Linked DNA regions of Homo sapiens: all the other regions are linked to region 2. Evidence: promoter capture Hi-C in human tissues and cell types (Jung and others, 2019). All regions are on one chromosome and are shown on one strand. Each heading gives the region's core, a stretch centred on a gene start or on the middle of the fragment in contact. The rest is flanking DNA. Distances are from core to core; before and after follow the strand shown. Region 1 overlaps MED27 (mediator complex subunit 27). Region 2 holds the start of NTNG2 (netrin G2). Region 3 overlaps MED27 (mediator complex subunit 27).

The links. The method cuts DNA at HindIII sites, captures the fragments that hold promoters and counts their contacts. A contact is called where the count stands out against the background at its distance.
Region 1: a fragment that was not itself captured here is called in contact with the fragment with the promoter of NTNG2 in region 2 in 2 of the 25 tissues and cell types used here (dorsolateral prefrontal cortex and lymphoblastoid cells).
Region 3: a fragment that was not itself captured here is called in contact with the fragment with the promoter of NTNG2 in region 2 in 2 of the 25 tissues and cell types used here (IMR-90 fibroblasts and hippocampus).

The regions. Positions count from the first base shown.
Region 1 is chr9:131,952,637-131,956,624 of GRCh38, reverse strand. The region is part of intron 3 of MED27 (mediator complex subunit 27); the gene reads left to right. Among named protein-coding and RNA genes, the nearest start is that of MED27, 130 kb to the left of the region's middle. The HindIII fragment of the contact is 4,027 bases long and covers 1-3,417 here.
Region 2 is chr9:132,159,467-132,163,502 of GRCh38, reverse strand. It overlaps NTNG2 (netrin G2), which reads right to left and starts at 1,445. Exons shown (of 8, transcript NM_032536.4): 1 at 1,264-1,445. LOC124902291 (a long non-coding RNA gene) reads left to right here and starts at 1,803. Exons shown (of 2, transcript XR_007061826.1): 1 at 1,803-1,887; 2 at 2,900-3,045. The HindIII fragment of the contact is 9,283 bases long and covers 1-4,036 here.
Region 3 is chr9:131,935,952-131,939,430 of GRCh38, reverse strand. MED27 (mediator complex subunit 27) reads left to right here. Exons shown (of 8, transcript NM_004269.4): 4 at 1-50. Among named protein-coding and RNA genes, the nearest start is that of MED27, 140 kb to the left of the region's middle. The HindIII fragment of the contact is 5,314 bases long and covers 1-3,479 here.

The DNA.
Region 1 (3,988 bases), core at 155-2,654, 210 kb after region 2:
TTTTTTTTTTGAGGCGGAGTCTCACTCTGTCACCCAGCTGGAGTGCAGTGGCGTGATCTCGGCTCACTGCAACTGCTGCCTTCTGGGTTCAAGCAATTCTTGTGCCTCAGCCTCCTGAGTAGCTGGAATTACAGGCGCCTGCCATCATGCTTGGCTAATATTTGTATTTTTAGTAGAGATGGGGTTTCGCCATGTTGGCCAGGCTGGTCTCAGACTCCTGACCTCAGGTGATCTGCCCGCCTCGGCCTCCCGAAGTGCATTTACATTTTTGTGCAGCCATCACCGCCATTCATCTTCAGAACTCTTCATCTTGCAAAACTAAAACTGTGCCCACTAACTGTAACTTCCAATTCCCACTCCACCATCTCCTGGCAGCCACCATTCTACTTTCTGTCTCTATGGATTTGACCTCTGTAAGTATATCCTAAAAGTGGAATCAGACAGTATTTATTTTTTTCTGACTTAGCGTAATTTCCCCAAGGTTCATACCTTTAGCAGGTGTCAGAGTAATATTTCATGGTATGGCTAGAACACAGCATGGGTTGATTTTTGAATGTTAGTCCAATTTTGCATTTCTGGAATACACTTGATCATGATATATTATCTTTTTTATATATTGCTGGATTCTATTTGCTAATATTTTATTAAGGAATTTTGTATCTTTGTTCATGGAAGAGTATTGTCTATAACTTTCTTTTTCTTTTGTAGTGTCTTTCTCTAGTTTCAGTATCAGGATAATGCTTGATCCATTAAATGAGTTGAGAAATATTTTTTCTCTGTTTTCTGAATTTCCATATGATTGATACTATTTCTTCCCTAGATAGTTGATAGATTTAACTGAGGGATCTGTGTGGGTCTGGAGTTTTCTTCATGGGAAGATTTTTAATAACAAATTCACTTTTAGCAAAATAGATGTAAAGCTTTTTAGATGTTTATTTCTTCTCATGTCAGTTATATAACTTACATCTTTCAAAGACATCCACTTCGTCTAGCTGTCGAAGAGATTGGTTCATAGTATTCTCTTCTAATGCCTCTAGAATCTGAGCGATGTCTCATCATTCATTCCTGATATTGATAAATTATCTTCCCTCTTTTTGCTCTTGATCAGTCTAACTAGCGACTTCTCAGTTTTGTTGATTTTTATTTCCATAACCTGCTCTTGGTTTTGGTGATTTTTCTGTATCTGTCTTCTATTTCATTGATTTACACACATTATTGCCTCCTTGTACTTACCTTGGATTTAATTTTCTCTTCTTTTTCTTTTTTTAATGGAAGCTTAGATATTTGATCTTCAAGTCTTTTTTCTTTTCTTATATAGGCTTTTAAAAACTATAAATTTCCCTCTGAGCATGGTTTTAGCTGCATCCCACACGTTTTAATATATTTTTATCATTCAGCCCAAGGTATTTTCTAATTTCTCTTGTGATTTCTTCTTTGACCCGTGAGTTGTTTAAAAGTGTGTTTAATTTCTGAATATATGGGGGCTCTTTATGTTATATTTTTGTTATTTATTTTTCACTTCAGTTGTGGTCAGAGAACATATTCTGCATGTTTCGAGACCCGGCTTATGGTCTGTCTTGGTGAGTGTTCCAGGTGCACTTGGAAAGGATGTACCTTCTACTGTTTTGGGATATAGAATATATATGTCATTGGGTTAACCCTGTTCAAGTCTTCTGTATTCTTACTGACTTTCTGTCTACTTGTTCTGTCAATTACTGAGAGAGGCGTGGTATTGACTATTTTTTAGGAGCATACACATTTAGGATTGTTATGTCTTCTGGATGAGCTCATCCTTCTAAGCTTTTAAAAAAATAATAATAATTCTTATGACCTTCCTTGCTTATAAATAATGGGTTTCGTTCACCCCTGAAGTTGTCCCCTTTCTCTGGGCAGAGGAGTTTCTTTGGGGTGGCATGCTATGGGAGAGAAATAGGTAGTAGGGCTCAGAGGGTCAGTGGTAGCATTGATGAGCAGAGGGGTCAAATTGATTCACTTTCTTTCTCCTCTGATATACAATATAAAAGAGTTTCTGCCAGAACTTGAAAGACTGCCACAAGACTTCTCAGCTTCAGGAGATCACAGCTGAGGCTAGTTAATGGTTTGTTGAGGCCACCTTAAACCTGTAGAGGGCACCCTCTAAAAGTTTGTTCAGGGCATTGCAAGCATCAATCCACCTGTCTCAGGTAGACTCCTAGATTTGGCTCCACTGAGAGAAGTATGTTCTGGTGTGGTTTTTAACTCCTTTGAAAAGGGCAAAAGGGATTTTGGAGCCACTGAGCGTGCATGCTGCTGGCTGTGGGAAAGACATTTTCTATCAAGGAGGCCCTCCTCCTGTGCTCACATCACACATTCCCAGACATGCATCCCAGTGTGGTCAGCTCCCAGCTGATTGATCACTGGCAGCCCTTGCTTAGTGGTGCTGCTTACCTAAACACCCTGGCCACTCCTAGGGTGCTTGTCCATTTCTCCTTCTTCAATATATGCAAATATATGCATGAAAACTTTTTTAAAAAGATAAAAAGGCTGGGCATGGTGGCTCATGCCTGTAAACCCAGCACTTTGGGAGACTGAGGCGGGCGGATCATCTGAGGTCAGGAGTTTGAGACCAGCCTGGCCAACATGGCGAAACCCTGTCAAAAATTAACCGGGTGTGGTGGTAGGGGCCTGTAATCCTAACTACCCAGGAGGCTGAGGCACAAGAATCACTTGAACCCGGGAGGCAGAGGTTGCAGTGAGCCAAGATCATGCCACTGGCACTCCAGCCTGGGTGACAGACAGAGACTCCATCTCAAAAAAAAAAAAAAAAGATATAAAAGTGAAGATTTATTTAGAGTGGGGGAAAAAAAACCCCACAATTTACGAACAAGGCAAAACCCTTTTGGAACGAAGCTGTTTAATTACCTGCCTTACTGTAAGATAGTGTTTCTAAACTCAGTCATTTGCAAACCAACTGTAGAATTTTTGCCATAACCTTTGGCCAGCTGTTCTATTATTTGTATAGTATTTTTAATATTCTTAAATAATGTAATTTTAATTATAATTTGTATAATATTTGTATAATTTTTTAAAGCCTAGCCTCTGTGGTACCATGACTGAGCAATGCTATCTATGAAATCACAGGTTTTATTTACTAGTTGTATATTGTTCTATACCTACAGATATTGAAATGAAAAATGTTCATCCATATATCACCTAAAACCACTTTTATGTGTATGACATTTTGGAAACTGTTAGTCTGTGCAAATTCACACCTGCAAATATGAACTTGACAGTAAACTTAAAGGAAAAAGCAAACTTTGCAGTGGCCTGAGAAGGACTACTTTGTGGCTACAGTTTGGAGGTGCCAGGGCACTTTAGGAAGGAAGGGGAAATAAGAGAGGCAGCAGAAAACCAGACTGGGGTACCTGTTTCTCAGGGAGGCAGATCCTTCCATTATCCTGTTTGGATGTCTTGAATTTCTAAACTAGCCGCATCCACAGTTAAAATACTCCAGGGGAAAATTATTAAATGAATGTTGTTCAGTTAAGCAGAGCGCATGTAAATTTTGTTTCATTACTAATCTAGAATACTTATATCACTGTTACCTTCAGTTGGTTTAAATATTCTTCAATTTACCATGTTTCTTACTCTAGCAGGGTTGGTTTTAATGTCATGTGTTTTATTTAGGAAGAACTTTTTGTTCTGAGAAGAAATTGTCTAAGGGAACGATTTCCAGATTGAGGAGACTTTAATAAAGGGACTGTTTCCAAAGGTGTGGGCAGGGTATAAGGAACCCATAAGGGACTAGGGCAGTACCTGGGCTAGTGCCCATGGGCGGAGCTGTTACTATCCTTCCCCCAGGGGTAAGAGGAGGGCATACTTACTGCAGCCCAGAGTGAGAGAGAGAGCTGCGTGGAGAGGGATCCTGACAGAGCTATGATGAGGGTTGTAGCCAGTTCCTGGGGAATTTGTAGGCAGGATAAATACCCTGACCTCACTGCTTTTCCAC
Region 2 (4,036 bases), core at 196-2,695:
CCCGTCCTCTGCCCCGGGCGGGGTCCAGCGGGCGCCCCGCGCTCACTGTAGCCTCGGCGGGCCTCTTAATTCCGGCGGCCCGGGTGTCCCCCCGCTCCGGAGCGGGCCCTTTATCCGGCCCCTGGGTCCCCGCCCGCGGGAGCCCTGGAAAGTTGGGCGCGGGAGGCGGGGCGCGAGCAGCAGCTCCCGGGTGGGTCCCGGCGGGCCGCGGGCGGGGTCGAGGCCGGGGCCAGGGTCGAGTCAGTGCTTCGGGCCGGCTGCGAGCCCTGTGCCTAGGACACCGACGACCCGGCAGCCCCGCAGCTGCTTTTCGTCTTCCCAAAGTTGCGTGCAAGCCACGGCAGCAATTAATAATTAAGCCCGTAATAAAGGCCCGGCCGGGACTGAGGCGCCCCCTTTTTCGGCACTGCCTCTCTTAATTAAAAGACACAGAGCAGGGCGCCCAGGAACTGGCTGTATCCTTTGCCCCGGCGCTGCCGCCTGTGGCGACCCGGCCGCCGCCGCCCCCAGCCCAGACGGCCAACTTACTCCGGAGCGGGCGGACCCCGCGAGCCCGCGGTCCTCTCTTCCCGCCTTCCCGCCGCCTCTGCTCCCCCCACCTGCGCGCCGCTCAGTTCCAGGTTCGACTCCACGCCGGCCCCAAACCAGTGCCTGCGCCCCCTCACCTCCCGACCCCCTCCCGGCGCCGGGAGAAGTTTCCAGCCGGACTGGCCGGGAGTTTCTCTGTGCAACTCACAGGCTCCCAGTTTGCAGAGAGATGGGAGGGCACGGGATGGGGGTGGCTCTAAGCGGTGGCGGTGGAATTGGGGTGGGGGAGAGGCGCGGGAGCAGGGTTAGTTTCCTTTTCCGAGACACATCCGAGCATCCTTGCAACATCCCTCCCCGACACACACACACACACACACACACACACACACACACACACACACACACTCTGTCTCTCTCTCACACACACACACACACACACTCTCACACACACGACGGAAAGGACCCGGGGGAAGCTGGCCAGAAAGACAAGCTACCCCTTTAAGATGCTGCTAAGAACGCACCCTCACACACCCCTCTGGGGCGACTCCAGTTCTCAGCTCGTAGCAGCCGCCACCAAACAACTTTTGCATCCGAGCCTTTGCCGGGCCGCTGTAAGTGGCTCCCGGGCCCGGGCAAGCCTGCATGGTCACCGAAGCCCTTTAAAAATGAAACCGGCCTGGCCAAGCTGCAGCCTCTCCCCCCGCCCGCCTCCCGGGCTCTCCCCGCCCGCCTTACCCCGGCTCGGAGCGGCTTCCCGGCGCGGAGACCTGGGAGGGCCGAGGACCGCCACCCTCCGGCGCTGCGCCTCCCCCCTCGGGCTGGCGCTGGGTGGGGGCGCGGGCCGAGGGCTGCGAGCCGCTGCTCCTTCCCCGCGCCGCTCCCGCCGCTGTGGCCGCCGCCGCCGCCGCCGTCAGATCGGGGCCAGGGAGCCCTCCGGCCGCCGGGGGGGCCGCCCGCAGCCGTCCCGGAGACGCGGGCCGGGGGAGGGGGCCGCCCGCGCCGCCCGCATCGCCCGCCCGGGCTGAGCGGGAGGTCGCCGCTAACAAGTGCAAACTTTTTGGCCCCCCTGGGCGGCCCGGGGAGGACCCGCGCTCGGGCGCCGGGCAGCCCCCGGCCCGGGTGGGCTTCGCGGCGTCTCGTCGGGGAGCCGGGGCATCCCCCCGGCGCGGCGCGGGCCAGATGGCGGGCGCTTCACTGCCCCCCTGCACTCCGCTCCAAGTTAATGCCGAGGCTAAATCCTCTTGCCATCACTCACGATCACCATCGGGGCTTTTATCTCTCGGTCTGATCCGGGCTGCGTAACTTCCTCTGTGTGGCTTTAACACACCATCCCACCACGGAGCAACGGTCTTCTTAAAGGTGCAGGAAGGAAATATTGCGCGGCTCGGGGGACGCGCCACGGCCCGGGGAGGGGCGCGGCGAGCAGGGGCGTCCCGGCGGGCCCGTGGCCAGGGTGGCCCCGGCAGCCTCTGGGGGGTCGCTGCCTAAACATCGCCTCCCGGCCCGGGGGCCAGCGGGTCCCTGCGCCCAGAGCGCATCCTCAGCCGGCTCCGGTCAGGCGCAGCCGGGCTGCAGCTTCCTCTTCCAAAACCCGGGGGCCTGCCGGGGTGCCAGCGCCCATGGGTGTGGGGGCTGCCCCATCGGCACGAGGGAGGGGGGCCAAGTGAGTCAGTTCCCCCACCCCCCACAGCCAAGGGCTCAGGGCTGCTCCTCGGTCTCTCTCTGTGAAGTGCTGCCACCCAGAAGGCCCCAAGCAGTGGGTACCGGGGTGGGTGGGTGGATTTGGGGAGATGGGGAGGGGGAGCGATCTGAGCGCACAACCAGAGCCTGAATACCAGCTGACACATCGCCGCCTCCACCCTGATGGGCCCTGCTTTTGACGAAGCCAAGCCAGCTCTGCAGGGAGTGCAGAGTAGTGGGGCAGGAGGGGCCTGGCTGAGGGGTTCTCTGTCTCCCTCCCCTGCAAGCATGGGAGGCAGGTGTGGGAGGGCTCCGGTAGCAGCAGCCCCGGGCAGAGGCCACCGAGTTCACAATATCATATCCGGCAGCCCTGGGCTCTCTGATCCCCAGGAGGTTTCCTGCCAGCCTGCCTCCCAGGGCTTCTGGGAGAGTTTCCACATCTTCCAGAAGCACATGTGGTTTTCGGACACTCCTGGCCTCCTGGGGTGGGCTCACTGCAGCCTTGAGCAGCCAGCACTGTCATTTGGATGCATCAAGAACAAAGGGCCTGAGGACAGACAGAGAGAGAGGCAGAGAGAGAGAGACCAGCCCAAGGTCACAGAGGGTGTTGGGAATGGAGCAAGACATGGCACCTCAGTGCCCCGCCCTGCTGCCACCCTTCACCTCCACCTTAACCCTTCCCTGTTCTCAGCTGCCCTGAAAACTGGAGACGGAGTTATACTGCTGAATAATATTTGGAATCTTGTGACAAAACAGGAAGAGGATGCAGAATTAAAGACTGTCATCTGCTGTAATAATAATAATAATATATTTATTGAACACCTGTTTTATGCCAGACTCCATGCAAACCAGTTTGTGTGCATTATTCACTGAATCTTCGCCAAAGCCCTGTGACTTCACTGCTAGTAGCAAAGCCTCAAGTTAGAGATGTTAAGTAACTTGCCCAAGGTCACATAGCTAAGGATTGTGGCCGGGGAGGCAGGGCTTTTGGGTTTCTGGGTGATGCTCTCTCACTGGCCTGGCTGGCTGGTGAACTTGGAACACGGCCCAGACTGCTTTGGGGCTCAGTTTCCCCATATGTGAGATATGAACGGTAAATCCTTCTTTTTTCAAAGAGGGGTCAAAAAACAGGGCCATTGTGTGCCTCTACCTGCACATGCTCTCAGATGCCTACCACTGGAGATGGGCCTATCTCACCAAGCAGCCCAGGAAGGCAGACATGGGCCCACCCCTGGTTACCTGTTCTATGCAGGAGGAAGCTCCTTGGGAGAAGAGAACAGATCTTGGTGGTTTGATTTTTAAGCATTCAGCCTGCAGGCAGCAGTGAAGGGCAGGGTGTGGGGCTCCTGCACAGGGTGAGTGATGACCAGGGTCAGCCCTCAGCCTGCTGTCACCCCAGGGCATGGTCATCAATCCCTGGGAACCACCCTGCTCCTCCATCATCACTGTGGACTGGATGCTGTCAGGAATGGCCAAAGAGATGGAGGAGCTGCTTCTTACTTGTAGTTCATCTAAACACAGTGGAGGAACCAGGGGTGCCTCCTCCCTAGCACTGCCAGGATGGTTTCAGTGACCCATATGTAAAGATATGTGCCACTAGAAACAATTTTTAACATGCCTCCCTGCCAGCCCCCACCTCACCAATACTCCCTGCCTCTGCAACAAGCTGATGCCAACAGGCTTTTTTTCGGGGACCTATGCCAGAAGCTGTCTTCTGGTTTCCTCATTTCCAGACCCCAGGATAATGGAAAGAGCACCGCACTGAGAGTTGGGATAATGGGCTTTTCTTGGCTCAGCCCTTACCATGCTGTGTGGCTGGGGGAGATCC
Region 3 (3,479 bases), core at 482-2,981, 220 kb after region 2:
AAATGTCCATCCACTTATCCAGACCCAATGGAACATCAGCAATGCTTCTGGTAAGATCAGCTTGACTGATTTGTAGGGATGTTGGGGGAAAAAATGGACTTCACAATTAACTCTCTGGTCCTGTGTTGTAGGATCTAGAGAATGGGGATTAAATTCCAATTTGATAGTGAATAACATAGTTTCTTTACTGGCATTCTGTAGGTTAAGAATTCTGCACATTGAAACCTTGCTTTTGAACAAAATTTCAGACCCCATGTAAGACTTAACCAGAGAGGAAAGACACTGTAAGACCATTTCACCTTAAGTCACTTAATGCAACCTCCCAATGTTTTGGCGAATCTGTTTTCTATTTTCCCCAAAGGAGTATAGTAGACAATAGTGATGCTCAACTGTTGGATCCTGCTAAAGAAAACACTCTCGCCAGGCGCGGTGACTCACGCCTGTAATCCCAGCACTTTGGGAGGCTGAGGCGGGCGGATCACGAGGTCAGGAGATCGAGACCATCCTGGCTAACACAGTGAAACCCCATCTCTACTAAAAATACAAAATATTAGCCGGGTGTGGTGGTGGGTGCCTGTAGTCCCAGCTGCTGGGGAGGCTGAGGCAGGAGAATGGCATGAACCTGGGAGGCGGAGCTTGCAGTGAGCCGAGATCACTCCACTGCACTCTCCAGCCTGGGTGACAGAGCAAGACTCCTTCTCAAAAAAAAAAAGAAAAAAAAAGAAAACACTCTCTTAATATAAAACCAGAATATTATGTATTTGAAGAAAGTGTTCTGAGACTGATGACTTCTGGTTTTGCTGTTTCTGATTATGGTTTGCTCTGAACACATCGCCTCATAATCTCCTAGAAGATGTTTGTATTTGCATGAATTCACCGAAGACAGGTGTGTTTTGGAAATACAGTGGGATAGAAATGCTAAATTATGTTATTAATTAGGAAGGCATAGAGACCTCAATGATGAGAAGCTTTTCTAGTGGTCTGTGTAATAATACTTGTATGTGCTTGAAGAATACTTCCCTGAACACAGATTTTTGAGGAACCACCACATTTTATAAAAAGCAGAGTTTATTGAATAAGAATGATGGTTTCGATGGGCGTCAGGGAGGTAAGGTTCAGGACTGGGTATTTTTTCCATCTATTCTGCTGTTGCTGCTTTGGAGCCTAGTGTGAACTCCCCATATTTTAGCATTTTACTTGTGTGAAATCTTATAAATAGCCAGTCACCCAGGATGAGTTACTGTTTACTCCAGCCGTTCATCTTCGGGGAGCATTGTGTGTGCGTGCGTGTTTTGGTCTTAAGACAGGAAAAGATCTGGGCTTGTTAAATGTTTGTTACTTCGTTTGTGGGGGAAACAAATTAGTGACATTCACCTGGATAACATAATATTTAAAAAATTTCTTTCAGTTAAAACATAAAGAAAAGGAGATAATGCGATGTTTTTTTCATAGAAAAGGGAAACAGTTTTCTTCATATAAAATACATCTGTCTACAGAACACAAAATATCGTCTGCCTCCAGAGGTTGCAGTGAGCTGAGATCGCGCCATTGCACTCCAGCCTGGGCAAAAGAGCGAGACTCTGTCTCAAAAAAAAAAAAAAGTCTGCCTCAGTTAAATGTACAAATTGCCCAGATTTTAAGATACCCCAGACCTAGCAGTTGAAACATAAACCCTGCTCTCAGCATACCTGACAGGGCCCCAGAGAGTTAATGAAGATAAAAATGAATGCATCCTCAGTGAAATAGGTTTGTTCAAATTATTTCTGGGTCATTGAGCTCCCATTTCATAATGAGGGTGGGATTTGGCATTGAAGGGAATGAGCAGAGGGAACAGGATTCCAGGCAAACAGGCCACACAGATGAGTTCCTTCCACCTGAGAAGGCAGGCATGTATTTCACAGTGATGGTCGACCTCGCCTGCTTTCCCATGGAGCTTCTGTCCTAATAGACTGATGAGAGAGTTTAGGGGCTCAATTCAAGGCAAGAATCACATTTCATATGCCCTGTTTATTTACTACCACTAACACCCATCCACCCCCGCTAATTCAGACACGTGGATCTAGGTGCCTACTTGTTACCTTTCTTCAGCGACACAGGAACTCACAGAAGCTGGTGCTTACTTACAGGGCCAGTGGTAGGTGATTTGATTCAGAATCAGATTGCCATGGGCCATGGGGTTAATCATACTTTTAACATAATGCCTGCATTTGGCATTTACTATTAAAAGTTGGAATTTTATGAGATGGCAAATCTCTAGGCTATTCACTGCTACCACATCCATCGTGAGGTGGGTGATGGGAATTCCTACCTGGAGGGGGAGCAGGACCAACAGATGCCACCTCCCCCACTACCTACTGCTAGTCACCTGTTCCCCAAAAAGTGTTTTCTGGAGATGAATCTGGAATAAATTGATTTATTCTGGAATGCAGTGTATTCCTGAAGGCTTTGGGGGCAAGCGAGACTGATGGGGAAAGACCAGTTAAGAGGCCGTTGAAGCAGGGTGCACTTGAGCAGTCTCAGCTGACACCTTCCTTTACCTCCCTCGGCAAATGTACGAACTGTGCCTGTGCTTTTGAAATAAAACGGCATTTCCTCCTGAATTGGCTGGGCTTCCTTGAATGCAGTCAACAGAAACTCTGATTGACTTACATAAGGAAAGAGTTGGTTTTGGTTTTGCTGTTTGATGGTGCCAGGTGCATCAGACTCAGTGATTAATCTGACCTGCCCGGCAGGACAAAAACCAGAGTAGCTCCAGGCATGTCAGGAACAAGATCAGGACAACGTTTTTTAGGGGGCCCCATGGCCCAAATGATTCCGTATTAACCGCCTTCCATCCCTGTGCATACAACCTGGGAAGAACACTCCTGCTGGCCTAGCCTGCAGTTGCTCCTTGCCCTGAGCCCAGAGGATGGGGGAGTCAGGCCTTGGCAGCCCCACAGAACTGCAAGGAGTGGAGGGGAAGTAATTCCCTAGAGGAACCAGCCGTCTGTATGGCACAGTGAACGTCTGTGTGGACAGAGTCTTGTGGCTTACACAGCACTTATCTCATCTGGTCCTCACTGTGGCCCTCGAGGTGGGTAGCACCAACTGTGCTCATCTGACAAGTAGGAAATGGAGGCAGTTGTTTCCCGTGGCTGCGGGGACACCTATCCCTATCTCCCCAAGCCTCCAGGATGCTGTCCTCCTCTTGTCTCTGAGGACAGGTCATGCTGGTGGCAAGTAAGATTTGGACTACCAGGCACTAGGCTGGTGATTTTTTCTTTCTTTCTTTCTTTCTTTCTTTTTTTTTTTTTTTTTTGAGACAGGGTCTCACTTTGTCACCCAGGCTGGAGTGCAGTGGCGTGATCACAGCTCATTGCAGCCTCAGCCGCCTGGGCTCAAGCAATCCTCCCACCTCAGCCTCCTGAGTAGCTGGGACCACAGGTGTGTGCCACCATGCCTGGCTAATTTTTGTATTTTTTGTAGAGACGGCAGGCTGG